2 separate regions of the Homo sapiens genome follow, and region 2 is linked to region 1. Evidence: promoter capture Hi-C in 16 types of primary human blood cells and fetal thymus (Javierre and others, 2016). All regions are on one chromosome and are shown on one strand. The core of a region is centred on a gene start or on the middle of the fragment in contact, and the rest is flanking DNA. Distances in the headings are between cores, read along the strand shown.

Region 1 (7,781 bases), core at 1,404-3,903:
TTAGTGGGATGAAAATTTTGCAGAGGAAAAACAACTAATTTTTCTTTGAATGGAAATTAGGTCTTAGAGTTAGAAAACACTAGCAACAAATGTTTCAATCATATTTATGTTTCCCTGGTGAAACCAATAGTGAGTTATCTAAAACCCAAATTTTAGTCTACGGAAGCAGGACTGTGTCCCCAAGAGAACTGAGGTAAGTGACATGCTCTGGGTCCCGCACCTGCACCGATGTACTTACTCCATGGGGTTAGCTGTGTGATGTTAGATAGATACCCCAGAACTTGAACTTTTAAATCTGTAAATGGTGAAATTAGATTATATACCTCATAGGTTCTTGAGGAAAATTAAATGTGGTAAACTGGCATTAAGAACAATTCCTAGGATACTGTAAGCTTCACATAAATGCTCAATATTGCCCTACCACCACTATTAATTATTCCCTGGGTTAAACATGCATTGTGCTGTTTGGAAACTCAAGCAATGTGATCAAGAAAAATAAAAGAAAGAAAAAGTCCAGTTGTGCTGCATGCTGCAGTCACAGTTTTCCCTCACTGATCTGGTGTCCCAGGTCAGCTGTTCAGCGTGGCTTAATGACAGGGACTTCCATTTACAAAAGTGCAGCAGAGATTTGCCCAGCATCCACCTCCCATCCCGCACTGCCCTCTTGGTCTCCCTCCATTCACTTAGCAAACAGCTGCCCAGTCTCCGCATCTAATTATTATTCTCCAAAACTTGAAAATATTAATAAGTCTAATTAGAATTATTAAAAGAATTCAAAATGTATTTGAAACTTGGAAATTCTTCCTGAAATATGACTGTATGATAACCACTGCTAAAGTCTTCCCTGAAAAAGGACCCTATATTTTCTTCCTATTGATAAATACTAAAATTTAACAACATGTCAGAAATCGAAAAGTTGCAAAGTTTTAATCTTCTTAAGAGAAAATGTAGGAGTTATCAGTGATTCTCTTCAGAAAGGTTAAATGTATTTTGCTTCTATTAGCCTTGTTAATGTAGCTCATAGCTATTCTAATCTGAAGTTGTACTTTAAATCATGTTTATATGTTTTTTCCTGAATAGACTGACTGTGACCTCCTCAAGCTTAATCAAATATAATTTGTCTTTGATTCCTGCACTAGCTAACACAGAGTCAGGCTGTGAGTAGCAAGATAGAGGAAGGAATTTAATTGAAGTGAGAGACATCTTAGTGTTTTATTTTCTTTTCTGCCTCACAGTTTCCGTGAAAAAATTCACTGTAGCAGGCAATAAAGCAGATATTTGCAAAAACACCAAAAGCCTTACCTGGTAAATAGCAGGGAGTTTCTAAATCCCAGTTATGCCCCCCTGAGATTTAATGCGAATGACAGGAGCTTTAAGGAGTTAAGCTTGGAGAAGCATGCACTAGTCACAAAGAAGGTGGATTCTGCATAAATCTCTGCTCAACATGAAAATAAGAGACATACCTTACATTAATATATGCATTTCTATTTGTAAATATGCATATACAATGTATTCTTATATTTGTAAATCTGCACATATATAAAAATGCATATCTATAAATTTATATAAAATAAATGTAAACTGTATACATACAAGTTGTCTGGGACTAGAGAAATTATCAAATCCAAATTCTTACAAGTCTGACTAAATGATAAAATCAGCAAACTGAAGTAATGAAGCTCATATCATAAGATGATTATAGTAATACAGTCTGCAGAATAATTTGTGTAGATATTAACTCTTTGACAGTGTATGTATTTGTTCATTTGTAACTGGTAATATTCTAAGCACTTTCATTACTTTTCTGCATTTAATCTTCATCAACCCTGAGGTCAAACCTTTTCTTACCATCTATTTTTATGTGCAGTAAACAGAGGAATAGCAGGTAGAGGGGAAGCTGGGTCCACCCTGCAGTCCAGCCACGGTCCCTGGGCTCCTCACCCCATGCGACTCTGGTTTCTGAGGAGTCTGGTGTGTAGGAGGACCCTGGCTTGCTCATGGGGATGTGTGGGGTTTTGCTCCACGAAACCACAGAGCCTCACAGCATTGTCCAATACTGTGGGTAGAAGGGTGCAAATGTTTGGTATGGATTTTCCACAAGTGATATTTTAGTCATGTTCTAAATCATTCCTATATGGAATACACTTTTGGGAGTTTTTAAGATTCCAGATGGATCCTTAAACCAGAGAATGTAATTCACTTTAGACTTCTCTAAACAACTCTAAAAACAGGGGGACAAAATTCTCCTTTGTTTTCAATAATTCACTATTCATGTCTGCATAAGGCAGTGACACTGCCAGTTTCCAGGACTTGTTTATAACAGACACTCTCATCGGGAAATCTCATGACTCAGAACTGTGGCAACTTCACTACAAATCACCCTTTTGATCCACAGTTGTGAATTCTTAGTTCCTGGTAAATTTTTTGAATTGCAGATAATTTATAACACCCAAATCTACAGGCCCATGGGCCTTTCTTTGGTTAGAACACACACACACACACACAATTTGTTTCAGAGGCTCAAATTACTTTAACCCCAAGCTTTCCTTTGTGGCCTAGGTGAAACCTCATGGACAACATCACCTGGATGGCCAGCCACACTGGATGGTCGGATTTCATCCTGATGGGACTCTTCAGACAATCCAAACATCCAATGGCCAATATCACCTGGATGGCCAACCACACTGGATGGTCGGATTTCATCCTGTTGGGACTCTTCAGACAATCCAAACATCCAGCACTACTTTGTGTGGTCATTTTTGTGGTTTTCCTGATGGCGTTGTCTGGAAATGCTGTCCTGATCCTTCTGATACACTGTGACGCCCACCTCCACACCCCCATGTACTTTTTCATCAGTCAATTGTCTCTCATGGACATGGCGTACATTTCTGTCACTGTGCCCAAGATGCTCCTGGACCAGGTCATGGGTGTGAATAAGATCTCAGCCCCTGAGTGTGGGATGCAGATGTTCTTCTACGTGACACTAGCAGGTTCAGAATTTTTCCTTCTAGCCACCATGGCCTATGACCGCTACGTGGCCATCTGCCATCCTCTCCGTTACCCTGTCCTCATGAACCATAGGGTGTGTCTCTTCCTGTCATCAGGCTGCTGGTTCCTGGGCTCAGTGGATGGCTTCACATTCACTCCCATCACCATGACCTTCCCCTTCCGTGGATCCCGGGAGATTCATCATTTCTTCTGTGAAGTTCCTGCTGTATTGAATCTCTCCTGCTCAGACACCTCACTCTATGAGATTTTCATGTACTTGTGCTGTGTCCTCATGCTCCTCATCCCTGTGGTGATCATTTCAAGCTCCTATTTACTCATCCTCCTCACCATCCACGGGATGAACTCAGCAGAGGGCCGGAAAAAGGCCTTTGCCACCTGCTCCTCCCACCTGACTGTGGTCATCCTCTTCTATGGGGCTGCCATCTACACCTACATGCTCCCCAGCTCCTACCACACCCCTGAGAAGGACATGATGGTATCTGTCTTCTATACCATCCTCACTCCAGTGGTGAACCCTTTAATCTATAGTCTTAGGAATAAGGATGTCATGGGGGCTCTGAAGAAAATGTTAACAGTGGAACCTGCCTTTCAAAAAGCTATGGAGTAGACCATTTTGAGAGTAATTTACTTTTCCTTCTCTCTGCACTTCACATATGAGAATGTTATACCAGTGTTATTTCCCAGACTCCAAGACTGCCATGGTGTTTGATCTCATTTTCACACCTCTTTTAGAAATCGCTTTCCTGTACTAGAAACTTTTCAATTTACACTCCGTCTCACTTCAAAATGCATTATTCAGTCATATTATATTGATGTTACAGTTACTGAAGTTCATAACTACTTTCTAATTCTATAGGATATTTTCATATTCTGGGAATACATAATGATACTACTTAGAGGATAAAGGTTATAAGGCATAAAATTGAGAGAGAGGGAGAAATGAGGAAGAAAAAGGGTTCATATAGATGTTCTTTGTACTACTTTTATTTATGCTAATTTTCTGTAAAATTGAAATTAATTTTAAATAAATAATTAAAATATGTCCCCTCCCTCCCACCTTTTTTGAGCAGTACACATGATATAATATCTTAGAAAACTTGCTGATTGCAATGTAGTTATTCACTGCTGAGACAATCCAGCCATTTGTCCACCCTTATTGGAGGCTGTCTTGGCCCACATGGTTGGTTCCTGAAAGATTAAGGTCTGTTATTGAGGTTAACAGTCTTCATCAAGTGCTGGGTTTTGAATCCCGAATTCCGTTAAGAGACTGTGGAAAACATATTAGCCTGGGGTGAAAAGAAGCTTTAGAGAAGATTTCCAGCACAAAGTGACATCTGAGCTGAGTTTTGAAGTATGTAATTTATTAGACAAATAAGAAGAGGTAGAGTATCAAATATCCAATTGTTCATTTATCCAGTAAATATTTGTTATGCTATATTAAATCTAAAATATTCACTAAAGAAAATTCAAAGGTGAATACTACATACTGCTTTCCCCAAGAAATTTGAACTAGTAATTCTGTGTGCAAATAGGTGCTATAAAGTGTATGAAATGCTTTGATGCACATGTGGAAAGGGTATAGCTCATTCTGGCACCTCGCTTCTTCCTGTGCTGTGCACATTCAATCAAGCAGAAGATGCTGAGTGCAGCCCCAGGAGCTCAGTGTTAAAGGTGCCTAGCTGTTCCCCTCAGATAACTACACATGGCTGGGGAAGGGGGAGGGACTTTGTCAGGGATGTGATTATGCCTGGGAAAAGGCACAGCAAGAGCAAAGGTCAGACAATTGACCAAGCAGGAGTGGCAAATATTCTAATCGTGCCTTCTTTCCTGTTTTATTTTGTGGAATAATTCCTTGCTTTCTGTGACCCAGATGTTTACAAACAGTAGAAAATGATCAGTCTTGCATTTCAGAAATATTACTTTGGTGACAATAGATTGGAGAAGTGCAAACCTGGTGGCAGGCAGACCAGGTGAGTGAGGATGGTGAAATGCACGAACTCAGTGGAACGATGTGTACCTTACCACCAGGAGGGACTTAGGGAGAGGAAATGTTTGGGGTATGCAGGGATGTGAGACTTTGTCAAACCAATTGGATTATAATTACAGACCTAGTTGCAGGTGTATCATTTTCCAATTGCCTGTGTCCAACTTGTGAAAAATCAAGTGGCTTCAGATTTACAGATTCTGCTTTCCTCTTGACAATATGATCCTAAACATGTAAAACTTAAAATCTCCACAAAAGCTCTGTTAGAACAATTGAAAGCCTTCACATAAAGTTGCAGAAATCAAAATCAACATACATCAATAATTTTTCTATGCACTAACATCAAACTACCTGAAAAAGAAATTTAAAAACAATTTTATTTATAATAGTGTCAAATCAAACAAACAAAAACTTTGGGATAAATTTAACCAAAAGGGTTAAATATCTACACTGAAAAACATAAAACATTGATGTAGGAAATTAAAGAAGACACCAATAAATGAGAACTATCCCATATTCATGGATTGGAAGAATTAATATGTTAAATTTTTCATATTACCCAAAGGGGTCTATACATTTAATGACATTCTTGTCACATTTCAATGTCATTTTTCACAGAACTGGAGAAAAAAATGATTTATATGAACAGTAAGAACAAAAGGGGAGCATCACACTACTTTTTTTCTAAATATATTACAAAGCTATGACACTCAAAACAGCATGGTACACGCATTACAAAAGGCACATTGACCAGTGGAACAGGATTTAGAGCCGAGAAATAAACCCACACATTTATAGTCAATTGATTTTTGACAAATGTGCCAAAAACACACCTGAGGAAAGGACTGTTCCTTCAACAAATGATACTGGAAAAATTAGATATCCACATGCAAAAGAACAAAATTGAACCCTTTTCTCACACCATATACAAAAATCAATTCAAAATGAATTAAACTTGGATATAAGACCCGAAACTGTAAAGCTACTAGAAGAAAATATAGGGAAAAGCTCTGTGACATTGGTTTGGGCAATGTTTTTCTGGATATAAACTCAAACTCCCATGGAACAAAAGCACAAATAAACAAATCAGATTATGCAAAACTAAAAAGGTTCTGCACAGTAAAGGAAACAATCAATAGAGTGAAGGGACAACCCACAGAATTAGATAAAGTATTTGTAAACTATATTATCTGATAAGGGATTAATAGAAAAAATATATCAGGAACTCAGAAACCTCAATAGTAAGAAAATAAATAACACAATTTAAAAATGGGCATAAGACCTGAATAGACATTTCTGGAAAGAAGACAGACAGATGGCCAACAGGTATATGAAAAATAATGCTTATTATCACTAGTCATCAGGGAAACACAAAACAAAACCACAATGAGATATCACTTCACTCTTGTTAGAATGGCTATTATCAAAAAGACAAAAGATAACAAGTGTTGGTGAGGACATGGAGACAACTTCCCTCCCTCCCACCTCCAACTTTGAGGGTACAGTGGGCTAAACTGAAGAATGCATGAGCTGGGGGAGGCAGAGGATGCTGGGTCCTGTCTCCCCACTCTCGGGGCCGACTCCTTGACCTGATACAGGCAGAACAGGTGAGGCCCCGAGGCTTTACCTTGACTGAGAGCTCTAGCTGTGAGTAGGATCTAGGCATGTTAGTAACGACTGATTCTGGACTGAATGTGCTGGGAGGTCATTTGAAAGTCTAGGAAGGTTGAAAAAACCTCATAGCTTGAACAGGCATTTGAATGAAACCTCAAAGTTCTTTTGTGCTTGTAACTTGAAGACATTTGCTCTTTGGAAATAGCATACACATATACAGACCATCTATATGGTATACACAGATGACAAAGGTTTGTGCTCTCCATAGTTTCTTTTCTTCTTTATTTGATGGATTTATTCTTTCTTGCACACCTGTAATTATATTTCTCTTGACACCTTGCTGTATATCAACTTCTTGAGTTACACTCCTTGTCAATAGTTGAAAAGTTTCTGTCTTTCAGCTTCCAACAAATTTGCTGACGAGTCAGTTGCTGCTCAGATTTTTTAAAAATCAATTTTATATAAGTAGTTCTTTCTATCTGGTGACTGCAAAATGTTAACTTGCATTTACTCTGAAAATAATTCATGTACATATTTTAACTTACTGTTACAATTGCTAACTGTTGTTAATGTATAATTTCTATAAATGTATATCTATTGCGTTGAATATCAGAGTATTAATTTAAAAGTGGTACTTTTTACATATATAACTAGGAGTGGAATAGCAGGGTAATATAATAATTCTATACTTTGTGTTTTGAAAAGCTGTCAAACTGTTTTCAACTATGGCTGAAACATTTTGCATTTCCACCAGCAATGCATGAGTCTTAATTTCTCCATATTCTCACCAACACTTATTACTGCTTAATGAGTAAGGGGTTTTACAGCTTGGGATCGTGGAAATGTTTTGGAACTAGAGGTTGTTGTTGCCCAATATTGTGAATGTATAAGATACCACTGAATTGTTCACTTTAAAATGGTTAATTACATTGCATGAAGTTCACTTGAATAAATTATTTTTAAGTGGCGCTGTTTGTTTGGAAGACTATGAGAGAAATTTATTTTCACATAGGGTTATCCCATGGAACTAGGCAAAATCTTGAGAAATAGTATTTCCAAATAATTCACAATAATTTTTCAACTTATTCCAAGAAGACAACTTCTCTAAAAACATGTAACATAATGGGCCTGGTCAGTTCTTGGTTGATGCTTTGACTCTTTCAGTGTTTCTTAT
Region 2 (7,781 bases), core at 1,785-4,284, 250 kb after region 1:
TGAATCTCAGATACCATGGAGTTTGTATACATAGATTTTAGTTTTCCAGCTTTACCAGTCAAAAGACATATGAAGAAGTTGGGATGAAAACAAGCAAGCCAACTACAGTATCCTCGGCTTCTGCAACACACATTTAGGTTTTGCCTTTACTTCAATACCCTTTCTCTTTCAATAGGTCTGTCCGTTCAATTTATGCAAATTATGCAATTTCAATTTATGGAAATTAGAAATGGTTGGTCTCTTTTCTGACACCTTATTTTTGCTATGCTTCCTTTTTTAACTTTTTATTTCTCCCCATGTATAGTTAATTATGTGTTTGTGTTTGAGAGCTCGGTTTTTAAAATTAAAATTTTTTACTTTTTCATTTTATTCATTTTTTCCAACCTCAGAAGAGCACATTGTTCTTTTAGATCTTTGGATTACTCTTATATTTCAAATAATATGCTCAAATGTCTAGTTTTTCCACAATCTAATTACTATTTAAGTACATTTACACATTTGCCACTCTCTCCACCATGCACTCAATTTTAGTTTTTCAGTTACATTATTCCTCTTAAAACCTTTTAGCATATCCCTATACTTTAATCATATAATTATATCCGTATTAACTGATTCATCAAGTATAAATTGTAAAGAGGTTGGTCTGCCAAGGAAGGTATGGATTTTGTGAAGATATAAAAGAAAATAAAAGACATGTAAATACTGGTAGAAGGAGACATCTTTATTAGTCATTTCCACATCCATCTCCCCAGTTTCTAGATTTTTTTATATTGTTATCACAGTCTATATTGTCTCAGTTTGTTACATTTCTATTTTAGTCATACCTTCATTTACTTATTCATATAGAGTCATTTTCTCATGTGTTTTTATTAAATGCTTTTACATATTATCAGGAACCTTTCCATTATAGTTTCTCCAGGCATCCTTTGGTGGGTTAAGGTTTGTCCTCAACCTGTTTTATTGTGATGTATATATGTGGCTATTCTACTTTTCCTTTCTCTTAAATCTTAAAGAATGGCTTTGTTTTTTAAAAGATATTCCACTAAAATATTGTTAAGTATTGCTCTATTTTTTATCATTTAATATAAATAAAATTCAAAGACCGGCCTAATACCACTATATTGTGATATTTTGCCTAGATTTCCTAGTAATTCTAACTTAGACACACACAGTACCATATTTTTGTGGGACATATCTGGATATAGAAAATACTATATCACATTTTGAAAAAGTATCTGCATGTACATTTTCATTCTAATCATTTACATGTATTTTTCAACCACAATATTTATGTTTGACCCTTTTTGTTGGTTTCCAAATCCACTGACACTTTTTAACCTCTCTCTTTATTTTCCTCAGGATTTTTAAGCCTCTTTTTCTGGTCCTTCATTATTTTTAAGCTGTTTCTCTTCATTTGTTAACATATTTTTATTTTACTTTTATCTTCTATTTATTCTCTAACATCTGTCACCTCAGTATTGATTTCTGTTTTTGCTTTATACCGATTCCTTTGACCCTCATGTAGCATTTGAATTCTATTACAAAGAAATATCAGATTTCATTTCAACTTTATTTCAAGGGAACCAACTTTTCATAATTTTGGTAGATATTATGTTGTATGTTTTCTATTTTGCTTTAGCTTTCTTTTTACTTTTGATATATGATGTTGCCTAAAACGAAATATTTAAGTAAATGTATTTCCATTCCTAGCTACCTATGTGTTTTAGGCAGATATGAGTTTTGAAATGTATTTGAAACCTTTTGGATCCTTTATATATGCTACATAGCTTTCATAGGACACCAAGCGACGCAATGTTTTACAGCCTTGTCTTGTATATTCTGTCCTATCCATTGTTACATGTCTGAGACCAAATTTGGCTGTTTTTATCATTTCTCTTAAACATCAGAACCTCATCTCCATCATTTTTCTGTAAACCTTGCTTTGAATTCTTCAGTCTCTCCTATCTTTAGTTATCTAATAACACATGCAATTTAATTCAGACTGATAAAGGATATTGTCTTAAATCTTTCTGCCTCTCTTTTGTCCTTACTGTGCCCCCAGTGACCAGCATAGGAATGGGCACAAAGCAGGCACCTGACTGTGGAGTGAATAAACCAATGCCTGGCAACATTTAGAATTTATAATCGGCAAATCCACTACTTAATTATATTGAGAGGATTAATTTAAAACAATCAACTTGAAAACAGTTAAAATGGTAGCTCAGTTCATTTACTGAAAACAAAGGAAGCATTTTAAACAATTCTCTTGGTCTTCGTAACCTTTCGGGACTAGCCCCCTAATTACCTGCAAGAATAGAAGAGCCCAGGGACCTCCTGAGAAGCCCAGTTTCCTCCGTGTTCCTTATGCTTTTTCCCTTCGTGGAAAAAAGTGATTGCACCTTTCTTTCCATTTCCTAATTCTACATCATGCCTTGTATTTAGCTGGAGACTCACTCAGAGTGGGAGAGCCTGAGAGAAGAGCTGGAGACAAGCAAGGTCTGCAGGGGATTCCAGGGCAGGCCGGCCCATGACCTGGCCAGCCCTGCCATGACCTGCTTTCCCACCCAGGTAAGCTGCTTACACTTCCGAGGTGAAACTATTAGAAAATTAAGAAAAAAAAATTAGACGTGTGTAAATTTAGGAGGCACAACATTTCCCTGGAGTTGAAGGGAACTATACTAAGTTCTACAGAACTTGAGTATTTGAAGATGCTTAAATTATCATTGTGCTCTATTCAGCCACAAGGATCTTGTGCTATAAATTTATCGTAGAATTTGCTGTTAAAACACACCCACACTAAAGAAGCCACCACATTACTCTATTTGTGACTTTTGTTGCAGAAATATTACTATACATTTATTTTTCATATTTCAGCTGTGAATTTTTAAAATCACATTCAAAGGCATGAAGAGTTAGGTAGTGAATTGTTTACTAAAGTGTCATTTTAAAAGAAATTCAAAAGTTTGTTTTACAAGTTTAAACATTTCATGTATACTAATCAGGGTCAGCCTTAATGAAGCTATGGTCTACTTAGAATCGAAACCTGCATATTAAGCTATTAAATGTTACTCAACAAAGTCACTGAAAATTTCTAGTGCCATAATCTGATGAAAACAGAAAAGTTATTTCTCCTCAATAGATTGTCAATGGTTATGGTAAAAAATTAACCAGTGAAATGTGTGGTTCCTTGGCACGACTGCAACACAATTCTGGGAAAATACTACAAGTCTCAAACTTTCCATTGTGATTCACTGAACTAAGGAAGCATTACTCAGTAAATTATTATGAAAATTTAGTAAAAAGTTAGGTGAAACTAGGTCCTGTTATCACATTAATTTAAAATATCAAATCGATTAAAGGTTTACATGTGGAAAATAAAAATATAAAACAAGACACATGAATGGGTAAAGATTTAGCTAAACGGTGAGCAAAGGCAATGAAGAAAACATGGAAAGTAAAATTAGTATTTGAAAACTGAAAACAATCTCTGAATAAAACAAATTTTTTCTAATTAGGAAATTTATGGTTCACATGACGAATCAAAGGCTGAGGATCGGTAATGTGTAAGATTCTCTTGCATATTCATAAGACAGACATGGCAATTTTTAAAATGACACAAACATGTTAGTAAACAATTTGTGGAAGACTTGTACATACAAAATAAGACAATGACAAAAAGCACAAAAATGTCCATTAATTTGTTGAATAACAGAGAGGCAAAAAAATGTGTGATTATCAGTGTTGCTGTGAGTCAGTGAAAACACCAGTGCGGCCTTTTGTGGTATGCCGGGGTAGATCACTGACGGGTACAACCCGAGTATATGAACATGAAAGGGACACTGTTTAATAAAAATGTAATAACCGATACAATAAAGGAATTCCTTACACAGATATTCATTATAGTATTGTTTTAGATTAGTAAAAAATTGGAAGAAATCTACATTGGAAATAAGAAAACTCAGATTCTGTTATTAAGGTAAATTGTGAAGTTATATTCAAAACAATATTTTTAAAAAGTAAACACTGAAAATATGTACACAAGAATATTTATGCAGATGTAGAGCTATATACAGCATGATTCTAATCTATAGTATTTTAATATATCTATGTATCTATATATTAAAAATATCATTTTCTCCCACAAAAAATAAGTATGTGAGATGGATATGTTAATTATCATGACATGGTCATTCCACAATGTGTACATGTATTGAAATATCTCACTGTACCCAAATATATATACAATTGTCAATTAAAAACAATTTTCAAAATCCTATTTTGAAAATTTTTATTCTGACTTGATCATTATACAATGTATATATGTGTCAAAACATCACCCCATACCCCATAAAAATATACAATTGTTATGAGTCGATTAAAAACAAAATAAACTAAAATTTTTACAAAGAAAAAATTTTATAGTAAATGTGGTAGGATTTATTTTATACCTTTATTTCTCCTTTTAGTTCCATCTATGTCTTAAATTATGTATAGCACTCACAGATGTATTTATAGAGTGAAAAAGATGTTTTAAAAAGATAATATAGTTTTAATCATAAGAAATTATTGACATGAATTTTTTTTGTCACCACGCAGGGCCCCCTGGTTTGGGCCCAAACACAGCTGCCCCACTCTGGGCTGACCACACCTATTGGTAGCAGCTCTGCATTTCTCTGGGATGGGGCCCAAGAAACATGTGAAAGGCCCTCTTCCACAACACTGCCAGGACCCTGCTCACACTGCCTCCAGGCTGAGGGGAACATAAAGCCTGAGTCACCCCAGAGGTGTGGCCTGTAGCCCAGGAGTACCAAGCTGAGATCTACAGCCAGCACTAAAGGAGGAAGAGGAGCCCACACTTTCAGAGCACTGAGAGGGAGCAAGCCTGCAATTGTGAGAAAATAGGCCCTTGTTCAGCCCCACGGCTCCTCTATCTACCGGCCATTATGCTTAAGCACCATCTACTGGATCACAGCCCAAACTTCGACACCAAAAATACTCTAATATACCTCCCCATGAAACCAAGGCCAAGAACTCAGCTATGAGTAAAGACCCTGCACAAAGCCTTGGGCCCTCTGAAAACATCCAGAAGTCAACTGACTGTACTCAAGTTACACCACAGTGAAGGGGACATGAGCCCACACAGATGAGAAGGAACCAGTGCAAGAACTCTGGCAACTCAAAAAGCCAGAGCATCTTTTCTCCAAACAAATGCACTAGCTCCCCCAACTAGGGTTCTTAAGTAGTCTAAAATGGTTGAAATGACAGAAATAGGATTCAGAATATAGATAGGAATGAAGACCATCAAGATTCGGGAGAGAGTTGAAACCCAATCCAAAGAATCTAAGGATTACAATAAAATAATACAGGAGTGATCGATGAAATGGCCATTATAAGAACCAAACTGATCTGTGAGAGCTGGAAAACACACTACAAGAATTTCTTAATACAGTTACAAATATTAATAGCAGATAGGACTAAGCTGAAGAAAATCTCAGAGCTTGAAGATGTACTCTAAACTCAGAAAAAATTAAAAATTAAAAAGAGTGAAGAAAACATCTGAGAAATATGGAATTATGTAAAGAGACCAAATCTATGATTTATATGGTATCTCTGAAACAGAGCGGGAGAAGACAAGCAATTTAGGAGACACATTTCAGGAAATTGTCCATGAAAATTTCCCCGATGTTGTTAGAGAGGCCAATATTCAAATTGAGAGCACTGAGAGAGAACACATTTGGTCTCCCCTGTGAGCCCTTTGTCCTCTTGCTCATCACCAGGAAGGGCCCCCCTGGTTTAGGCCCATGACACAGCTGTAACACTCTGGATCAATCACACCTATTGGTAGCAGCTCTGCATTTCTCCATATTCATGTGGGGTAAAGTGTGGTTGGTCGGAGGAAGGTAGACACTCTGGCAACTCAAAAAGCCAGAGTTCTTGCACTGGTTTGTTCTCATCTGTGTGGGCTCATATCCCTTTAACTGTGGTGTAATTTGAGTACAATTAACTTTTTTCTGCAAGACACAACACAAGAAGTCCATCACTAAGATACATAGTCATCAGATTCTCGAAGATGGAAAACAAGAAAAATGTTAAAGGCAGCTAGAGAAATGGGGCAGGTCACCTACAAAGGAAACCCCATAAGCTAACAGCAGATCCTTTAGCAGAAACTCTACAAACCAGAAGAGGTTGGGGGCCTATGTTCAGCATTCCTAAAGAAAAGAATTTTCAACCACGTATTTCATATCCAGCCAAAGGAAGCTTCATAAGCAAAGGAAAAATAAGATTCTTTTCAGACAATGCTAAGGGAGTTCCTTACAACCAGACCTGCCTTACAAGAGGTCCTGAAAGGAGTGTTAAATGTGGAAAGAAAAGACCATTACCAGTCACTACCAAAACACACTTAAATACATAGACCATTGACACTATAAAGCAACCACACAAACAAGCCTGCAAACAAACAAAAAAACACCTAGGAATAGGATGACAGGATCAAATCTACACATATCAATGTTAATCTTGAATGTAAACAAGCTAACTGCCTCAAAGGGCACAGAGTGGGAAGCTGGATAAAGAAGATTCAAAGGTATGCTGTCATCAAAAGACCCATTTAACATGCAATGACACCAATAGGCTCAAAGTAAAGGGATGGAAAAAAATCTACCAAGCAAATGGAAACAAAGAAGCAAGGGTTTCGATTCTAGTTTCAGGCAAAACAGACTTCAAACCAGCAAAGGTCACAAAAGACAAAGATGGCCATAATATAATGCTACAGGTTTCCATTCAACAAGATCTAACTATCCTAGCTATCTATGCATACAACACAGAAGCACCCAGGTTCATGAAGCAAGTTCTTAAAGACCTACAAAGATACTCAGACTCCCATACAATAATAATGGGAGATTTCAGCATCCCACTGACAGTATTGAGGCAAAAAGCTAACAAAGAGACTTGAGACCTAAACTCAACACTTGGCCAAATGGACCTAATAGACATCTTCAGAACTCTGAACCCCAAAACAGAATATACATTCTTCTCACGTGTACACAGCATATACTCCAAAATTGACCAATCGGACACAAAACAATCCTCAGCAACTTAATTATACCAACCATATTCTTGGACCACAGTGCAATAAATAGAGATCAATACTAAGAAAATCACTCAAAACAAAGTTATATGAAAATTAAATATGCTAATGGTGACCTTTTTGTAGACAACAAAATTAAGGCAGAAATCAAGAAATTATTTGAAACTAATGAGAACAAAGGTAAAATATACCAGAATCTCTAGGATGTAGCTAAAGAAGTGTTGAGGAGTCTGCAACACTAAATATCCACATGAAAAAGTCAGAAAGACCTAAAATTAACAACCTAACATCACACACTTAGAACTAGAGAAACAAAAGCAAACCAACTCCAAAACTAGCAAAGAACTAATCAAAATCAGAGCTTAATGGGAGGAAATTGAGATGTGAAAAACCATACGAAAGATCAACGAATCCAGGAGTTGGTATTTGAAAAACATAAAGAGACAAATAGACCACTAGATAGACTAAGAAAAAAGAGAAGCTACAAATAAGTACAATCAGGATTGTCAAAGAGTTCATTACCAGCAACCTGACAGAAACACCAACCAAAGAAAACCCTCAGACTACTATGAACAGCTTTATGCTAGAGAATCTAGAAGAAATCAATGAATTCCTGGACACATACAACCTCTCAACATTGAATCAGGATGAAACAGAATCCCTGAACAGACCATTAAAAAGTTCTGAAATTAAA

What was found. Contacts are between HindIII fragments. The CHiCAGO score rates a contact against its expected background, and 5 or more counts as called.
Region 2: a fragment that was not itself captured here is called in contact with the fragment with the promoter of OR2T4 in region 1 in 4 of 17 cell types (naive B cells, naive CD4 T cells, non-activated CD4 T cells and 1 more); the score reaches 5.8 in naive B cells.

The regions. Positions count from the first base shown.
Region 1 is chr1:248,359,012-248,366,792 of GRCh38, forward strand. OR2T4 (olfactory receptor family 2 subfamily T member 4) reads left to right here and starts at 2,654. Exons shown (of 1, transcript NM_001004696.2): 1 at 2,654-3,616. The coding sequence starts at 2,654. The coding sequence ends at 3,616. The HindIII fragment of the contact is 1,770 bases long and covers 2,540-4,309 here.
Region 2 is chr1:248,607,299-248,615,079 of GRCh38, forward strand. No RefSeq gene overlaps it. Among named protein-coding and RNA genes, the nearest start is that of OR2T10, 13 kb to the left of the region's middle. The HindIII fragment of the contact is 6,444 bases long and covers 1-6,256 here.